Linked DNA regions of Homo sapiens: all the other regions are linked to region 3. The links are contacts of gene promoters, found by promoter capture Hi-C in blood cells and fetal thymus (Javierre and others, 2016). All regions are on one chromosome and are shown on one strand. The core of a region is centred on a gene start or on the middle of the fragment in contact, and the rest is flanking DNA. Distances in the headings are between cores, read along the strand shown.

Region 1 (3,090 bases), core at 437-2,936, 320 kb after region 3:
ACTGAACTTGCAGGTGGTTTTAGGAACCCCGAAAACATCTCCATTCCAGAAAATAGAGCAAAACCACCCTCCCTGCCCAAAATGAGGGTGGGTTATACTTAGTAACTTGCTTTCAAAGAATAGAACAGGGAAAGGGAAAAATATTAACATTATAGTAGAGAAAACTAGCAACATGATACTAGAGAAAACTAGCCAATGCAATAATACCTCAACCAAGCCAAGAAGGTTCATATTATCAGTGGTATCGTGTTGATAGCATGCACCCACTGATGTAATGCGATAAGGGTACTTCATCTCTGTGGTATTCTTTCCCAATACCCATAACCCCAGTCTAGTCATGAGAAAAACAACAGACAAACCCAGATTGGATACCTAGCCAGTACTCAAGACTTATGCAAAGGTCATAAAAAATAAGGAAAGGCGGAGGAACTGTCACAGACCAAAGACTAAGGTGGCATGATCATTCAATGCAATGTGGTACCCCAGATGAGATTCTGGAACAGAAAGGGGACTGTAATAGAAAAACTGGTAAAATTCAAATAAAGTCTGGTGTTTCATTGACAGTAATGTATCAATGTTGGTTTCTTAGCTTTTACAAATGCAGCATGGTAATGTAAGAAATAAAATAATGAAAGAAATTGGGTGAGGTGTTGATATGGTTTGGCTGTGTCCCCACCCAAGTCTCAACTTGAATTGTATCTCCCAGAATTCCCACATGTTGTGGGAGGGACCTAGGGGGAGGTAATTGAATCATGGGGGCCCGTCTTTCCCATACTATTCTCCTGATAGTGAATAAGTCTCTGATGGGCTTATCAGGGGTTTCCACTTTTGCTTCTTCCTCATTTTCTCTTGCTACCACCATGTTAAGAAGTGCCTTTCAGGCCAGGCGCGATGGCTCACGCCTGTAATCCCAGCACTTTGGGAAGCTGAGGTGGGCGGATCATGAGGTTAGGAGTTTGAGACAAGCCTGGCCAACACGGTGAAACCCCATCTCTACTAAAGATACAAAAAAATTAGCCAGGCGTGGTGGTGCATGCCTGTAATCCTAGCTACTCAGGAGGCTGAGGCAGGAGAATCGCTTGAACCTGGGAGGTGGGGGTTACAGTGAGCCAAGATTGTGCCACTGCTCTCCAGCCTGGGCGACAGAGCAAGACTCTGTCTCAAAAAAAAAAAAAAAAAAAAAGAAGGAAGTGTCTTTCGCCTCCCACCATGATTCTGAGGCCTCCCCACCCATGTGGAACTGTAAGTCCAATTAAACCTCTTTTTCTTTCCAGTCTTGGGTATGTCTTTATCAGTAGAGTGAAAACAGACTAATACAGTAAATTGGTACCAGTAGAGTGGGGCGTGGCTGAAAAGATAGAAGAAAATGTGGAAGCAACTTTGGAAATGAGTAACAGGCAAAGGTTGGAACAGTTTGGAGGGCTCAGAAGAAGACAGGAAAATGTAAGAAAGTTTGGGACTTCCTAGAGACTTGCTGAATGGCTTTGACAAAAATGCTGATGGTGATATGAACAATAAGGTCCAGGCTGAGGTGGTCTCAGATGGACATGAGGAACTTGTTGGGAACTGGAGCAAAGGTGACTCTTGTTATGCTTTAGCAAAGAGACTGGTGGCATTTTTTCCTTGCGCTAGAGATCTGTGGAACTTTGAACTTGAGAGAGATCATTGAGAGTATCTGGTGGAAGAAATTTCTAAGGAGCAAAGCATTCAAGAGGTGACTTGGGTGCTGTGAAAGGCATTCAGTTTTATAAGGTAAGCGGAGCATAAAAGTTTGGAAAATCTGTAGCCTGACAATGCAAAAGAAAAGAAAATTTCATTTTCTGAGGAGAAATCCAAGCCGGCTGCAGAAATTTGCATAAGTAACAAGGAGCCAAATGTCAATCCCCAAGACAATGGGGAAAATGTCTCCAGAGCATGTCAGAGGTCTTCATGGCTGTCCCTCCCATCACAGGCCCAGAGGCCTAGGGGTAAAAAGTGGTTTGTGGGCTAGGTCCATGGCCTCCATGCTGTGTGCAGCCTAGGGACTTGGTGCCCCATGTCCCAGCCACTCCAGCAGTGGCTGAAAGGGGCCGACATACAGCTTGGGCTGTGAATTCAGAGGGTGGAAGCCCCAGGCTTTGGCAGCTTCCAAGTAATGTTGAGCCTGTGGTGCACAGAAGTCAAGAATGGAGGTTTGGGAACCTCTGCCTAGATTTCAGAAGATGTAAGGAAATGCCTGGGTGTCCAGGCAAAAGTTTGCTGCAGGAGTGGGGCCCTCATGGAGAACCTCTGCTAGGGCAGTGCAGAAGGGAAATGTGGGGTCGGAGCCCCCACACAGAGTCCCTACTGGGGCACTGCCTAGCGGAGTTGTGGGAAGAGGACCACCGTCCTCCAGACCCCAGAATGGTAGATCCACCGACAGCTTGCACCATGCACCTGGAAAAGCCACAGACACTCAATGCCAGCCTATGAAAGAAGCTAGGAGGGAGGCTGTACCCTGCAAAGCAACAGGGCTGGAGCCTCCCAAGACCATAGGAATCCACCTCTCGCATCAGTGTGGCCTGAATGTGAGACCTGGAGTCAAAGGGGATCATTTTGGAGTTTTAAAATTTGATTGCCCCACTGGATTTCGGACTTGCATGGGCACTGTAATCCCTTTGTTTTGGCACATTTCTCTCATTTGGAACGGCTGTATTTACCCAATACCTGTAACCCCATTGTATCTAGGAAGTAACTATCTCGCTTTTGATTTTGCAGGCTTACAGGTGAAAGGGACTTGCCTTGTCTCAGAGGAGACTTTGGACTGTGGACTTTTGGGATTAATGCTGAAATGAGTTAAGACTTTGGGGGACTGCTGGGAAGGCATGATTGGTTTTGAAATGTGAGGACGTGAGATTTGGAGGGGCCAAAGGTGGAATTATATGGTTTGGCTCTGTCCCCACCCAAATCTCAACTTGAATTGTATCTCCCAGAACTCCCACGTGTTGTGGGAAGAACCCAGGGGGAGGTAATTGAATCATGGGGCCAGTCTTTCCCATACTATTCTCATGACAGTGAATAAGTCTCATGAGATCTGATGGGCTTATCAGGGGTTTCTGCTTTTGCTTCTTT
Region 2 (3,096 bases), core at 539-3,038, 360 kb after region 3:
ACTTTCTCCACATTTAAATAACATTACTTATATTACACTTTCACTACAGAGATAAAAAATCTGAAATAGGAACTATAAATAGGTACCAGTTGTTAAATATTGCTTTTATTTATTTTTTTAAGACAGGTCTCACTCTGTTGCCCAGGCTGGAATGCAGTGGTGCAATCATGACTCACTGTGGCCTTGACCTCCCTGGGCTCAGAAGATCCTCCTACCTCATTCCCCCAAGTAGCTGGGACTACAGTCACAGAGCTACCACGCCTGGTTAATGGTTTTTTTTTTTTTTAAATAGAGACGGGTTTTGCCCTGTTGCCTAGGCTGGTCTTGAACTCCTGGGCTCAAGCTATCTACCTGCCTCAGCTTCCCAAAGTGCTGGGATTACAGGCATGAGCCATCATGCCCAGCCTTAATATTGCTAATCTCAATAAGCATTTAGCTGCACAAGGCACTGTTTTAAAAGCCAAGAGGGGATGAACAGAAATAAGACAAATCCTCTTTGGTCTCTTATTTTGTGTAAATTGAATCATATTCTTTGTAAGTATGGGGAATATTCATTCTACTTCACTCCTGTTGTCCCAATGTAATTATTAATAGGCCTCCTTTCACAGCCAAGTGTTTTGGATGAGAAATCATGTGGTCGCCCTATTTACAAAGAATATTTGTAATCAAACTTATCATAAGCTTTCCAAAACAATGAAAATTCCCTTAGACAGCCAAGGCCATCCAAATCTTCAGATATTTTTCTGACAATTTTCTGATTCTGTATTCTACTTATCTGCCTCATGCATTAATAACATAATATTCTGACCAGAGATTAGCACTGGATTCCATTTTCTCTACTTCATTAATTGCTTTCATGTAAAACAGTCTAATTTCTTCAATAAGATTAATATGCCCCTGAAAATAGTTTTATACTTCTGTTGTCTCCCTCTCAAGTATGGCATAGTGGGCATACACAGTGGGCTCTCAATAAATCATTTAAAACTCATAATAGTTTTACATTAAATTAAGGATCATTCTAAGCCATTACAATAATGTTACAGAATTTAACATAATCACTGAGGGATCTTTGAGGAACAATTCAGAATAAAGTCAAGTAAATTCAAACTGAGGGATTATAGCTTGAGTAGGGAACTAATAACTGTATCCTGCATTATTACGGTACGTTTGCGGGGTGAGGGGAAACTAAAAGGAATCCACTTCTATGACTGTCATGAAGCCCAGGAGTTCTGGAGGGAACTGCATTCCATTCTGAATTTTCTGGTTACAATCCCTGTCTTCTCTCTTCAACCTCAACTGAAAACCCATACTCAAGAGGCCTCAATCTGTGCCCTCTTATTCTTGGCAAATGGCAAAACCAACTATGTAGGAGGCTTTTTCAGAGGAGAAAACGACTTTGTTTTTCCAAAAGACAAACCCTCCACTTTGCTTTATGAGGCAGATAGCAGCCCCAAACCATGGATAGGTTGGGGCCTGCGCAGACCTCAATTATTACGGTATTTTACAGTTTATAAGACAAAGAGCTTCCCCACACATTAAGACACTTCAGTCAGAAGATCTGAAAGTTTGGCCCTTCCAAAAACTGAGCGCCGTGCCTTTAAACCACTCAAGTTTCCTAAGCATTAGTTTCTTTCTCTGTAAAAGAAGGCCAATAACACTGGTCCTATTTCCTTCTTAGTGATGAGGTACAGTGAGAAAGTATAGAGGAAACTCCTTGAAAAGCATAGAGAAATACGTTTAAAAATTTATTCAGTGTTTATGGAGGGGTGACCACCTACACATGCCAGGAATTACCTCAGACAATGGTGTTACAAATATGTGTCGCTACAATCATTGAGTCAAACAGCTTATAATTTAGAGAGATTTTCAAAGAATTACAGTAAGAGTGAAATGAGCTAGACCCGAAGTGTACATGAGGTACAAACACACACAGAGGAAGGAGCACCTCAATGTGGTTTAGGCGCCTGAGAGAGATGCAGCCGAGGAATGAGTGGGAACCGAGAGATACTTGGGAAATGCAAATGAAGTGGAGAGGAAGGGAAGGGCTGGGACCAGGGAACAAAAGAGAAGAGTAATGCAAGGATGCTGGGTAGAAACAGCCCAGCATACAGCAGGCTCTGGGGCACATGTTGTGGCTGAGAGAATGACGGGAAGGAGGATAGCAAGGGAGGCAGGAGTCAGATGAATTAAGACAGGGTTTCACTCTTGTCGCCCAAGCTGGAGTGCCTTGGTGCGATCTCTGCTCAGGGCAACCTCTTCCTCCTGGGTTCAAGCAATTCTCCTGCCTCAGCCTCTGGAGTAGCTGGGATTTCAGGCATGCGCCACCACGCCTGGCTGATTTTTGTAGTTTTACTAGAGATGGGGTTTCACCATGTTGGCCAGGCTGGTCTCGAACTCCTGACCTCAGGTGATCCACCTGCCTTGGCCTCCCAAAGTGCTGGGATTACAGGCGTGAGCCACCGCGCCCAGCTAAGTTTTGTATTTTTAGTAGAGATGGGGTTTCGCCATGTTGGCCAGGCTGGTCTCAAACTCCTGACCTCAAGTGATCTGCCCGCCTTGGCCTCCCAAAGTGCTGGGATTACAGGGGTGAGCTACTGTGCCTGTCTGAGTTGATTATTTTGAGAAAGAAAAAGACACGGTCATGAGAAAGACTGCTCCAGGGGCCACCAAGCTCATCTCTTACAGTCCATCCTCTTTAGATGAACAAAAGATTCTAAATACTGGAACTTGGGCAATGTCATTGGATCACAGGAAAAGACACATGTGAGAGGCATTTAGGAGCTGGAAATCAGGATCTGATTGACTGGATGCATGAGGTGCACAATGCACAAAAACACATGAGTTCTTTTTTTTCCACAGGGGGAAGATGGGTGTTGGGGTGATGGGGAGTTGAGCCAAGCTTGTAGGCAGAGAGATGGTCATAACAAAGCACATATTCTGGGGCCAAAGTGTCTGGTTTCTGGACCTCGTTCCACCACTTACTTGGGCAATCTCAAAGAAAACACTTGACCTCTCTACGCCTCAGTTATCTCATCTGTAAAATGGGGCTATTATTAGTGCCTACCCTATATGGCTGTTATTAGGATTAAATGAGTC
Region 3 (2,700 bases), core at 174-2,673:
CCAGACAAAGTATCGTATTATCTTTTCGGATGGAAGAAATCCCTGTAGAGATGGTTAAAGACTGGCATTCACATAAGTTTTGTGCCCTGAAATTCATAGCTATCAGATATTTGTAGAAATAAAGACTCTTCTAAATGACCACTTGTGTCTGGGCCAAGGCAGAACTAGAAAGAAGGACTCAGTGGGTAGTTGGAGTCAGTGGTGGTCTCTATTTACCCATGAGAAATAGATTCTTGGAAATAGGATAGGAATGCTTATAAGATTTGGACCAACAGAAAGCCTATGATCTCATAAATTCATGAATCCCACAGTCTATAATCTATTTGACTTCACTCTCAAATGCCTAGGACCATTTGGACTAAGGCTGGCAAGTCAGAAAATTGCAGTTTTTATTTTCAACTCCACACAATTTTCACCAAGTAAAAAACCTTCATGTTTTACGTGAATTTGCTTCTACGATCCATAGATGACTGGATGTTCTCGGGCGGGGTAAAGGCAAATGAATTTGTGTCCTCATTGGCAAATGGTGTTGGTGGTGGTGTTATCTTGTCTAAAATCCACAGGAACCTGTGTTTCAGGACCCTGTCTATTGTCCTGACCATTCAGAATGCATGCCAAGCCCCTGCTCTTCCTGGAGTTATCTTTATCACCTCTCCTCAAGTTTTATCTTGCACCATATAAGTCACATTGTATTTCAATATTAAAATGCAACATTAATAGATAAGCTGGAGAATCAAGACATTTCCAAGAAGACAGGGGACGCCTTTTCTAATATATCGTCTGATTACACCCTCTTTCTTTTGGGTGCTAGCTTAAGAAGCCAAACCAAAGCACAAATGAACAGAGAAGTCAACACATCCGACCCCAAACCCTCAGGACGCTGGCTTGGGTTACATGTGGCCCTCTCTGTGGTCAGTTTGTGAGTAGCCTCCCCGGAGGGTGTGTCCCAACTTCCAGCAGCTGCCGTGGAAAGCCACGTGTCCGCTAAACGCCTACATTACATCAATAAGAGAAACTAAGGAAGGGATGGAAAAGCTATCATTTTTCTTTTCTTCCTCAGTTCTGGCAGTATAGTGATTTAATCGCTGTTATTATTTTTATTTAGTTAAAGCATCAACTTAGGCCTTTTAAATGATGGTAAAAGAGAAAGCTTCAGATCGGGGTATTGGTCAGATCATTCTTACTAGCGATGACCTCTTCGCCTTTGGCACCTCGCGGCTCTTCGCATGCCTCCAAGAATTCCCGGGTCTTGAAACCTACGCGCGGCGGAGGCGACGCCTCTCGGGAGAGGGAGGGTGAAAGAAGGGGCGGGGCTATTTAAATAGCCCGCGAGCTTCGCGTCCCCATTGGCTGCCAGCCTGTCGGTTACCGCGGGGCGGGGAGTCCCGGGGCTGGAGTGAGGTACCTGAGCCGGGCGCGCAGCAGAAAGCCCACGTTGGCCGCTGCGGGGAGCGCGGCGTGGAGAGGCGGGAGACCGAATTCCGGCGCCGCCGCCGCGGCCGCTGCTCGGTGCACTAGCCCCCTTCCTTCCCATCCTTTCTGCGAGCGGGTTTGCTGGGCAGCCGGGCGACCGCCGAACGGAAAGCAAGATCCTCGCCGCCTCCGCTTGAGGAGGCGTGCGGCGCGCGGAGATTTTGAGTGGGAGCGACGGTGCCCGAGAGCTCAGGGGCGCGGAGTTCGTGAGCGAGAAGGAAGTTAAACCTCGCGGAATAGACTGGCATTTCGGGACGCCTTGTCGCCGCAGCCTGGGCCCTGCAACGGGGTAAACTTCATGGTGGCCCTGCGATCTGGGGAGGGGCGTGCGCCACGGTGATGCCGGGCATCTCCCGCAGCTCGTGAGCGGCCCCGCTCCCCGCTGCCCCGGGTCCCACTCAGTCGCCAGGGAGAGCGCGGGGCAGCGCACGTGTGCGGCCAGCGAGGCCCAGAGTGACCGCGCCGCGACTCGCAGGAGCCAGGGCGCAGGCTGCAGTGCAGCCCGGACTCAGACGCACCTGGCCTGGACCGCGCGCCTCTAGAGACCTGCGCGAGGCTGTGAGGCTCCCCTTCCTCCCCTCCAAGCGGTTCTCCTGGTGATCGCCCCTTCGCCACCTCTCTAGCCTGGGCAACTGGGGGCGCCCCGGACGACCATGAGAGATAAGGACTGAGGGCCAGGAAGGGGAAGCGAGCCCGCCGAGAGGTGGCGGGGACTGCTCACGCCAAGGGCCACAGCGGCCGCGCTCCGGCCTCGCTCCGCCGCTCCACGCCTCGCGGGATCCGCGGGGGCAGCCCGGCCGGGCGGGGATGCCGGGGCTGGGGCGGAGGGCGCAGTGGCTGTGCTGGTGGTGGGGGCTGCTGTGCAGCTGCTGCGGGCCCCCGCCGCTGCGGCCGCCCTTGCCCGCTGCCGCGGCCGCCGCCGCCGGGGGGCAGCTGCTGGGGGACGGCGGGAGCCCCGGCCGCACGGAGCAGCCGCCGCCGTCGCCGCAGTCCTCCTCGGGCTTCCTGTACCGGCGGCTCAAGACGCAGGAGAAGCGGGAGATGCAGAAGGAGATCTTGTCGGTGCTGGGGCTCCCGCACCGGCCCCGGCCCCTGCACGGCCTCCAACAGCCGCAGCCCCCGGCGCTCCGGCAGCAGGAGGAGCAGCAGCAGCAGCAGCAGCTGCCTCGCGGAGAGCCCCCTCCCGGGCGACTGAAGTCCGCGCCCCTCTTCATGCTGGATCTGTAC
Region 4 (2,790 bases), core at 61-2,560, 490 kb after region 3:
TACTTCTATCATATATTTTTTCTTTTTAATTAATATTTCATGACCAGTTAACCAGCAGTCTGTTATCCTTCTAATAAAGAAAAAGGTATTATAACCAATAAAATATATTTATTGCCCTCATTTTAAAGTCTTGATTAAGGACCCATCCCTCCCTTGTGAAAGTCTTTTTTAAAACATCATCAGAAGTACACAATCAATGGGGAAAGAAGCCCTTGTTTGTTTAAAGAAGAAACATATTCCCCAACAGAAGATATAAAAACATAAGTCTGCAAATAAAACATGTGGGTCTGTTTACTTAGTAGAGATTTTGTATCTGGCTAGTGTAAGTATAGTCATTCTCAATTTTGAGGGATTCAGGAATTTTTGCTTTTGTAAACTCAATATATGAGATATAATGCAACTCGAACATAAGAAAATAACTCGTTTTCATTCGCATTATGAGAAAAGGGATGTAGTGCCTATAGGACCATCTTACATGAACACAACATACATTTCTCTTTTTTTTTGAGACAGAGTCTCGTTGTTGCCTGGGCTGGAGTGCAGTGGCAGGATCTCCGCTCACTGCAAGCTCCGCCTCCCAGGTTCATGCCATTCTCCTGCCTCAGCCTCCCGAGTAGCTGGGACTATAGGCGCCCGCCACCACATCCGACTAATTTTTTGTATTTTTAGTAGAGACGGAGTTTCACCGAACACAACATACATTTCTCAAGTTATGGCTATCAATCATTCTGGAAGCTTGCATTGTGGGTTCCAGCAGTTGGAATCTGTTAAACAGATCTATACTACTGAAAATTCTGTGCAAGACAGCTAGAGAAAGAGCTTAATGAATTCATTCTGAGGTGGCTAGATATCAATTAGCCAGAGTAAGTGAAGAAATTGTAAAGCAAAAGGTGTGTGTAGAGCTCTTCCTTTGTGTGGTGAGAGCTCTTGGTTTTACTCATCAGAGGAGATGCAGAAGACTCCAAGCTGTCTGCACACTGCTGCCATCACTCGAGGGGGTCATTGCTTTAGGAATTTTTCCTAGCTTTTCCTACTTTGATGAATTACTTTGAAATACTTTACTATGCTTCACAATATAAGATTCAAATATAAAAATAAAATCATACAGTTTTAAAAGTAAAATAGAACCTTAGAAAGATTCCACTTTATTTAATTTTTCACTTGAGAGAAAGAAGGTATAAAGAGTTTAAATAATGTGCCTGAGGCAACACAGCTAGCTGGTGGCAAAACTGGGACTAGAATTCACCTCATTCTGCCTTGTGATTTTAGAACTGAAAGAAGCTAATTTCTCATTTGTGCAGCCCATTTCATCAATGGACATTAAAAGTTCTGTTTAAAGTGCTAGTTAATTTACCGATTGCCAGGACTTAGTCAACTGAGGTAAATCCAAAATGTGTTTGATATACTTCAGTAAGCAAAAAGGGTACTTTTTTCAGTAAACTGGAGTTAAAGACGTATTTACTTTTAGGCGGAAAGACTATTTGTAAGGCATTATGACAATTGCTGAATCTAAATCAGTATAAACATAGAATTCCGTTAAAAGTATTTTAAAAATTGGGTTGATTCTGGTTAGTTTGCCAATGAAGTCATTGAATAAATGTTGCAAAAAGCTAGAGAAATCTGTGCAATGTTCAGAATTTGACCTAGATTGCATATGGGTTTTAAAAAATGCCACCACATTCATTATTGTGAGTAATTACTTATAAATATATAACAATACACTTTGCAAATATGAAATGCTCGTGTAGAGTATTAAATGCCGGTAATCCTTAAGTATTCTGAAAAGTAAAATTATTTCCCCAGTTGTTTCTGCTTTCATGTAAAGAGTAATCAATGAGCTTGTTTTTATTAGCATTTCTGTTGGTGTGTTTACGTCTTGATGGCTCAAAGCTTAAAGAAAAAGCAAAGCAATATAAATTCTACTGATAGTAATAAAAATATTAAAGCTGAGAAAGAACCACTTGTAGCTTCATATCTTCATGTGGCTAAGTTGGTTTTGGTGAATTTTCTGTGTAAAAAGCAACCAATAAACTAAACCCAACATCTCCCAACGGCATTTTCTTTTTCTGTGGTTGAATGGTGGAAAGAAGGCAGTAGTGTGCCACCTGGTGGTTCAACATGGATTGACATAGTAGAGTTTCCCCAACCCTGTATTAACCGAATTTAAAACATAACCATTATTTCCTCAGCTACCAATTCTTTCCTCCTTGGAGATATTTATTTTTCTTATTCTAAAGAATACTCATCAGGTACCATTATTCTGTTTGGAGATTGGAAATACGTTAAAATTAAAACAATCACCTCTAATATGCTTCTCACAGCTTGTCTATCCACAGACATTTGCCATTTGTGTTATACCTATGATATTTAATTACATTCAGATACAACTAAGGACTAGAAATAAAAATAATGCCATCCCAGGGTGGGCATGGTGGTGCACACCTGTAATCCCAGCACTTTGGGAGGCTAAGGAGGGCAGACCATTTGAGCCCTGGAGTTTGAGACCAGCCTGGGCAATATAGTGACACCCCATGTCTGCAAAAAATACAAAAATTAGCTGAGCATGATGGTGCATGGCTGTGGTCCCAGCTACTCTGGAGGCTGAGGTGGGAGGATTGCTTGAGCCCAGGAGGTTGAGGTTGCAGTGAGCCTTGATCGCACCACTGCACTCCAGCCTGGGCGACAGAGAGAGGCCCTGTCTTACACACAGAGACAAAAGATTGAGAAGGAAGGACTTATTACAATATAATATGACATTATGCCCTTGATATGACATGTTACTGATGTCAG

What was found. Contacts are between HindIII fragments. The CHiCAGO score rates a contact against its expected background, and 5 or more counts as called.
Region 1: a fragment that was not itself captured here is called in contact with the fragment with the promoter of BMP6 in region 3 in 7 of 17 cell types (endothelial precursors, M1 macrophages, erythroblasts and 4 more); the score reaches 17.2 in endothelial precursors.
Region 2: a fragment that was not itself captured here is called in contact with the fragment with the promoter of BMP6 in region 3 in 4 of 17 cell types (endothelial precursors, M1 macrophages, M2 macrophages and 1 more); the score reaches 11.6 in endothelial precursors.
Region 4: a fragment that was not itself captured here is called in contact with the fragment with the promoter of BMP6 in region 3 in 13 of 17 cell types (naive B cells, naive CD4 T cells, naive CD8 T cells and 10 more); the score reaches 16.8 in naive B cells.

What each region holds. Positions count from the first base shown.
Region 1 is chr6:8,043,122-8,046,211 of GRCh38, forward strand. All of the region lies in intron 2 of BLOC1S5 (biogenesis of lysosomal organelles complex 1 subunit 5), which reads right to left. All of the region lies in intron 2 of BLOC1S5-TXNDC5 (BLOC1S5-TXNDC5 readthrough (NMD candidate)), which reads right to left. The region is part of intron 4 of EEF1E1-BLOC1S5 (EEF1E1-BLOC1S5 readthrough (NMD candidate)); the gene reads right to left. Among named protein-coding and RNA genes, the nearest start is that of BLOC1S5, 20 kb to the right of the region's middle. The HindIII fragment of the contact is 3,648 bases long and covers 1-3,090 here.
Region 2 is chr6:8,085,047-8,088,142 of GRCh38, forward strand. The region is part of intron 3 of EEF1E1 (eukaryotic translation elongation factor 1 epsilon 1); the gene reads right to left. All of the region lies in intron 3 of EEF1E1-BLOC1S5 (EEF1E1-BLOC1S5 readthrough (NMD candidate)), which reads right to left. It also overlaps SCARNA27. Among named protein-coding and RNA genes, the nearest start is that of EEF1E1, 16 kb to the right of the region's middle. The HindIII fragment of the contact is 2,218 bases long and covers 680-2,897 here.
Region 3 is chr6:7,724,676-7,727,375 of GRCh38, forward strand. It overlaps BMP6 (bone morphogenetic protein 6), which reads left to right and starts at 1,424. Exons shown (of 7, transcript NM_001718.6): 1 at 1,424-2,700. The coding sequence starts at 2,281. The HindIII fragment of the contact is 3,909 bases long and covers 1,149-2,700 here.
Region 4 is chr6:8,217,446-8,220,235 of GRCh38, forward strand. The region is part of intron 2 of LOC105374910 (a long non-coding RNA gene); the gene reads left to right. Among named protein-coding and RNA genes, the nearest start is that of EEF1E1-BLOC1S5, 120 kb to the left of the region's middle. The HindIII fragment of the contact is 1,155 bases long and covers 734-1,888 here.